2 separate regions of the Homo sapiens genome follow, and region 1 is linked to region 2. The links are contacts of gene promoters, found by promoter capture Hi-C in human tissues and cell types (Jung and others, 2019). All regions are on one chromosome and are shown on one strand. The core of a region is centred on a gene start or on the middle of the fragment in contact, and the rest is flanking DNA. Distances in the headings are between cores, read along the strand shown. Region 1 has its middle 2.0 kb from the start of LINC00933. Region 2 holds the start of ZNF592 (zinc finger protein 592).

The links. Contacts are between HindIII fragments. The study calls those that stand out against the background at their distance.
Region 1: a fragment that was not itself captured here is called in contact with the fragment with the promoter of ZNF592 in region 2 in 2 of the 25 tissues and cell types used here (adrenal gland and spleen).

Annotation. Positions count from the first base shown.
Region 1 is chr15:84,567,018-84,570,338 of GRCh38, reverse strand. It overlaps the pseudogene UBE2Q2P1. Among named protein-coding and RNA genes, the nearest start is that of LINC00933, 2.0 kb to the left of the region's middle. The HindIII fragment of the contact is 5,545 bases long and covers 1-3,321 here.
Region 2 is chr15:84,746,603-84,749,890 of GRCh38, reverse strand. It overlaps ZNF592 (zinc finger protein 592), which reads right to left and starts at 1,299. Exons shown (of 11, transcript NM_014630.3): 1 at 1,227-1,299. RefSeq lists enhancers at 328-407, 936-1,775, 1,848-2,147 and silencers at 808-1,297, 1,358-1,777. The HindIII fragment of the contact is 21,328 bases long and covers 1-3,288 here.

The sequences.
Region 1 (3,321 bases), core at 35-2,534, 180 kb after region 2:
CGCGCCCCGAGGTGGGAGCCCGCGTCGCCCGCAGCCCTTTCGGGGCCCATGGTCGCCCTCAGTCAGCCAGCCTGCTCCCCGGGACCGCGACGGGGCGTGGCAGGGCGTCTCCGGCTGTTGTTTGAGCCCGGGCGGGGAAGGGGAAAGGCCTTCAAGATTTTCGGGGTTTTGGCCGGGCGCAGTGCTCGTTCCTGTAATCCCAGTACTTTGGGAGGCTGACGCAGCTGGATCGCCTGAGGTCAGGAGTTCTAGACTAGCCCGGCCAACATGGTAAAACCCTGTCTCTACTAAAAATACAAAAATTAGCCGGGCATGGTGGCAGGCACTTGTTGAGATGGAGTCTCACTCTGTCGCCCAGGCTGGAGTGCAGTGGGGTGATCTCGGCTTACTGCAGCCTCCGTCTCTTGACAGTCCATGGGTTCAAGCGATTCTCCTGCCTCAGCCTCCCGAGTAGCTAGGATTACAGGCTCCTGACACCACGCCTGGCTAACTTTTGTGTTGTTTAGTAGAGACAGGGTTTCACCATGTTGGCCAGGCTGGTCTCGAACTCCTGACCTCAAATGACCCATCTCTGCCTCCCAGAGTTCTGGGATTACAGGCCTGAGCCACCGCGCCCAGATCCAAGGCCCTTAAGCTTAAATGCCTCGTTCTTCAGTCAGGTTTTCCTTGTTCCCGCATGTTCAGCCAATCGTGTTTAAGGAGAAACTAACAATGAAAACGGGCTTGTTGATGGAGGAAAAGTTGGAATGCAGCCTCTGGTGCTGTTTGAGCGATCCCTCTATCCCGGGTCGCTGCTGTGTTCTGGAAAGGCACATTGTACCCTGGATGCAGCAGGTAAGAGTCCTGTCCAGGTGCTCTGCCCGCTTTCCTTTCAGGCTTCTGTATCATCTATTTTTCCCCTGTAGAATGTGCCCCTGACAGCCACCCCCTAACCCTACCCAATTTGTCTTTACATGTCTGACCATCAAGGCTCTTCTGGGTCATATTCAGTTCATGCTGATATTTCCCCTTCCTCCCCTCTTTAGTCCTCACTATTTTTGCTTTGGTCATGTTATGCTGTATTCTGTAAGGCTTTTTAATTTTTTTTTTATGATGGCAGGGGAGAATAGTTTATAATTATGCTTTGTGCTTTTTATCTTCTACTCAATAAATGCTTGGTAAATATTTGTTTTATTGAATGTATGACCCTATTCTAGCTATATTGTGCTTGAACAAAAACCTTAACTGCCTTGTAAGTTAACTGCTAAGAATTTGTCAGAAGTGCAGACATAACATCAAGAACTTGTCATGGATAGTACAAAAAGGTCTCTAAGGGCTTGATGGAGGCCTGTAAATTGACTTCCTATGAAAGAGAGTGTAAGAAGTGAAAATGTAAAGCATGACTGGAGAGCCAGAGTGATGAAGCCAGGGTCCCTTTCTCCAGATCCTTTGTAACAGTGTTATGTGATCTCTTCTAGAAGATCGTTCTGAAAGATAATGCCAACTTGGAACCTAGGAAACCATCCAGTGGGTTTCTGCAGCTTAGGTGGTTCAAATCCTCATCAGCACCTTTGTTTTCTCTGCCTCAGTTTGCTAACAATGATGTTCTCAGTAGCTGTAATTGCTGTCTTTGAATACGTAAGCATTTTTTTTTAGATGACAGGGATATATGTGCATTTTTATTTTACCAAGTGTTAGAATTTTTACTCTGCTTTTGTGGGCTCTGGGTTAGCTACTTGGTTGTTTAGATGTAAAATGATTAGCAGGGAAAACTCTGTGTGTGTGTGTGTGTGTGTGTGTGTGTGTGTGTGTGTGTGTGTGTTATAAGTTTCTTTTGTTGTCAGAGGACTTAGAATTTTATTTTATATGGTAATTCTGTCAATTTACTTTATTCTCCACCCCACATTTATTGAACAGCAAAGTATGAAAGTAACGTGTCCCATAACCAGCCTTCAGAAAAATTACAACTGCTGTATATCTGAAATTCTTTTTTTCTTTTTTTAATTTTGAGAAGGAGTCTCACTCTATCACCCAGGCTGGAGTGCAGTGGCACAATCTCGGCTTACTGGAAACTCTGCCGCCCACGTTCAATCGATTCTCCTGCCTCAGCCTCCTTAGTAGCTGGGATTACAGGCATCTGCCACTGCACCTGTCTAATTTTTGTAATTTTAGTAGAGTCGGGTTTCACCATGTTGGCCAGGTTGGTCTTGAACTCCTGACCTCATAATCTGCCTGCCTTGGCCTCCCAAAGTGCTGGGATTACAGGCATGAGCTACCGTGCCTGGCTGAACTTGCAAGAAAAATATGTGCATCAGTTTTCAAAAAATTATATCAAAAGATAGCTGTGCCCTACATTTGGAAAGATACAAAAACCTAACATACCGGCAGGCAGTTTTGCTTGCTGGTGCTTGAGATAGAGCCACACATTGGTCTCAGTGGATTTATGGAGAAAAATAGATACAGAATATTGTTTCTAATTAAGACCAAAAAATCCTTTTCTTAAGCAGTGACAGGTAAAGAGGTTGTCTTGGCTAACCTTGAATTGTGTTGCCCTTGATTGAGACAGTTTTATGGTGGGGTTGGTAGTGGTGATAAACTTGTTTGAAATTTGTCTGCTTATAGTAAGCTTTGTGGTAGCTGTCACAGAGAACTTCATCCTCACAGGCCCTAAAATTACTATAAAACTAATAGAATGGAGGAGAAACAAAGGACCTGAATAATTAGATGCTTAGATAATTGTTCTGTGTTTTCATAACCGGTGAAAAAGAGCAGTGTTAGAAGTACTTAAACATTCCATGTAGGGAACACTGCCTGAATTTATATTGTGATTTTTGAGCATCATTCACTGTTTAAAAACAGGCATATTGTGGGTCGTATTTTAAAGACAAATAGAAAACTTATCTTTTCAAGATGGATCTAAAGCTTAACCTTATCAAAATTACAAAATGTAAAGGATATGATTGAAAAATATTAATGCATAGGTTTAAATATTGGTCATCATTTTAGATTTCTTTCAAAATAGGTTGTCTCTTAAATATTAAACTGAACAAACATTGAACATGTTGTAGAGTTTGTGCTCAAGGTTAAGTTTCCTGGGGTGATGGATATTTTATAATATGGGTAACAAAAAGTTCTTATTTTAAGAAATTTAGAAAATTTTTAGGCAAAACTAGAAAGTAATACCAATAATTCTACCACTCAGAATGTACCACTATCAGAATTTTGTATCTTTCAGTCATCTGCTCATCTCTTTTCTCCTTTGCTTGTATGTGTTCCCTCTCCCTTAAAAAATCAGATTTTTTTTTGTAATCTGCATGTTCACTCAACAATATTGTAGATTTG
Region 2 (3,288 bases), core at 50-2,549:
AATGAATCAAAGCCACAACTAGTTGAAAAATTGGAAAATGATCAAAATGGACGCACTAGCACCACACTTCTGCCCCTTTCACTGTGTAACGTAACAGTGAGGTTGAGGAAACAGACTACTAAAATACCACCAAGCATCCACCAGGCCAGGAATCTGTCTGTCCACATCCTCCGCACTCTGCCACACTGTGCACCACACTGCACCCGCGACAGAAGCACCCTACAGGCCCTCCATGAGCACAGGCCTGAACTCAAGTGGGCAAACCATAAGCCAAATACCGTCTTACTCCCCAAGTCCCATTCTTCTACTGCCAGTCCTATTCTAGACTAGTCCTGGATGCCAAACATGCTTCCCTGGGTGGGCCTGTGGACTTATTCCAATCCAGGACCTTTAATGCCACCTTTGGCCTACTCAAAAAATGGTTTAAAATCCCTAAACAGCTTCAATAATCCTGCAGTACTCAGGAGCAGGCATACCTAAGGTCATACGGACCCCTCCCCCTCACAAACGCTGATCCAAGGCCAGGAGGCCATCTGTCCAGCAGACGCTCTCCTGTCCTCCCTCAGGTCACACTGAGCCTCCCGCCAACCCCCTCGTTGGCAGGAAGAGCCCTTGCAGAGAGACAATTTTCACCCTGATCAACAGGCCTGGTCACCCCTGAGGACCCCAACTCTGGAGCTCTAGGAATACCTGTCTGCTCCGGGAGAAACCTTCCTCAGGGTCAGAACTTGGGCTCAGGGGAGGGGAGTACTGAGGAGCGCCAAAGAGGGTCGTTCCCCGAAGTGTCTGCCCTGTGACGGCGACAGCTCTTCGGGCGGCGGGGACGGTCGGGCTGACAGGCCGTCCCAGAGGGAGAAAGTGGCACCGTTATCCGTGCCCGGGCTGGGGGCCGCCGGCTATCGCCGAGGGCGGCCGCACGTCCCGCCCAGCGCGGAGGACAGCAGCGTGCCCGGCCTGCCAAGGAGCGGCGGTCGCAGCGGCGGTCGCAGCGGCGGAAGGGGCCGGCGCCCGACGGCCGGGGGCGGGGTGGGGTGGCGGCCCGGGCCCGCCAGGCGGCGGTCGGGGGAAGTGGCTGCCGCCTCTGGCGGCGGCCAGGGTCCGCCAGGCTGCAGGGCCGGGCCCCGGCTCGGGCTCGGACTCGGTCCCGGCTGCGATCCTCCCGGGCCCAGGCTGGGGCTGCCCCGGCCCGCAGGCCCCGCTCGGCCCGGCCCGCGGGGGGCGCTTACCTGGCGGCGGCGGCGGCGACTGCAGGCCAGAGTCTCGGCCGCGCGCGTCCCCAGCGCCGGCTGCGGGAGCCACAACATGGCGACGGCGATGGCGGGCGGGGCTGCGGCTCCGGGGGCGGAGCGGGGGCGGGAGCCGGCCTGGCGGCGGGACCTGGCTGGGGCTGCCGCGGCGGGGGATTGGGGGGGGGGGGGGGCAGGCGGAAGGCGACTCGGACCTGGGCACCGGCCCAGGACGGTGCGGTGGAGGGGCTGCCCCGGCCTGGGCCCGGCCTCCCGCCTCCCGCCTCCCGCCCGAGGCGGGCTGCGCGGCGCAGGCCCGGCGACGGCGACGACGGCGGCGGCGGGTAGGGCGGGGCGGGACGCGACGGGACGGGGCGGGGCGGGGACGGCGCCGCTCAGGGCTGGACCCCCGACCCCGGCCGGCCCCCGCCCGGCTCCAGTCCCCGCCACCCGTGCTAGGCACCCTGTGCGGTCGGGCAGGCAGCCGCTGCCAGCGACCTGGGCCTCTTGTCCTCTGACGCGCCTCGGGGCAGGGGCAGGGGCCGAGGCCGCCCACTAGAGGAACAGGATCTGCCTACGCAGCTGTCTCGCCCGGCAAAGAGCGCCCAGGACCCGGGACTGCGTCCTCTTCACTGAGACCTGGCGCATAGGGGGCCTAGTCGAGGCTGTTAAGTGAAAGCAAGCAGGGGTGGCGTGGGCCTGGCGCTCAGGTGCGCCCTAAATGTTTGGTCATAGCTGGCTACAAGGACATTCGCGCAGGCTTGGAGGTGCGGGGCAGCCTGACGTGTTGCCTCTGGGGTAACCGAGGGACGCGCGGCAAACAGAGATGGAGGACTGGCAACGGGTGCCTCGAAGAGGTAGACTGGGAGATCTCTCAGGGTTACTGGGGAAACGATGACTGTGCAGGGTGAGAACTCAGTGAGTCTGGCAGAAGGCTGGGAGGGTGACCGGCAGGACCTTCCAAGAACCCGGCGTACCTGGAAACTGGGTCCGCAGCATTAGGGCGGCAGCAAGGTCAGGGTGTGGGAACACGGAGATGAGGCCCTGGTGACTAGGAGTGAGCACACACTGCTAACCATGGAGAAATTCCTTCTCCAGGAAGGAGATGCAAATGTGCAAGATGGCTGGAACTAACATGCAGCCGGAGCCTGCTGTGCACCAGGCACAGAACTGAGTTGAAGAGCTTGTCTAAAGAGTATGTTAGCCAATGAAGCAATGGAGTTAATAAAGGGTGATGATTTCAAATGTTTGGCAGTGAGAGAGAGAAAAGTAGGCCTGGAGCTCAAGAAGTACCAAGAGTAAAGGAGAAAGTTGGGTCCTACTGTGGAAGCTGAGGCAAAAGCATCCCTTAAGCCGAGAAGTTTGAGTTCAGCCTGGGCAACATAGCGAGACCCTCCCTCTCTGCAAAAGAGTAAAGGGAAAAGTTGATTGTTTTTTGTTTTTTTTTTTTGTCTTTGGAGACGGAGTTTCGGTCTCGCAGCCCAGGCTGTAGTGCAATTGCGTGGTCTCGGCTCACTGCAACCTCTACCTCCAGAGTTCCAGTGATAATCCAGCCTCAGCCTTCAAAGTAGCTGGAATTACAGGCGCACGCCACCATGCCTGGCTTTTTTTTTTTTTTTTTTTTTTTTTTTTTTTGAGAGAGAGTTTCGCTCTTGTTGCCCAGGCTGCAGTGCAATGGCACAATCTCGGCTCACTGCAACCTCTGCCTCCTGGGTTCAACCGATTCTCCTGCCTCAGCCTCCCGAGTAGCTGGGATTACAGGCATGCGCCACCATGCCTGACTAATTTTGTATTTTTAGTGGAAATGGGGTTTCAACATGTTGGTCAGGCTGGTCTCAAACTCCTGAACTCAGGTCATCCACCCGCCTCGGCCTCCGAAAGTGCTGGGATTACATGCATGAGCCACCGCACCCGGCCCTAATTTTTGTATTTTTAGTAGAGATGGGGGTTCGCCATGTTGGCCAGGCTGGTCTCGAACTCCTGACCTAAGGTGATCCACCTGCCTTAGCCTCCCAAAGTGTTGGAATTACAGGCATGAGCCACCATGCCTGGCCGGTGATTT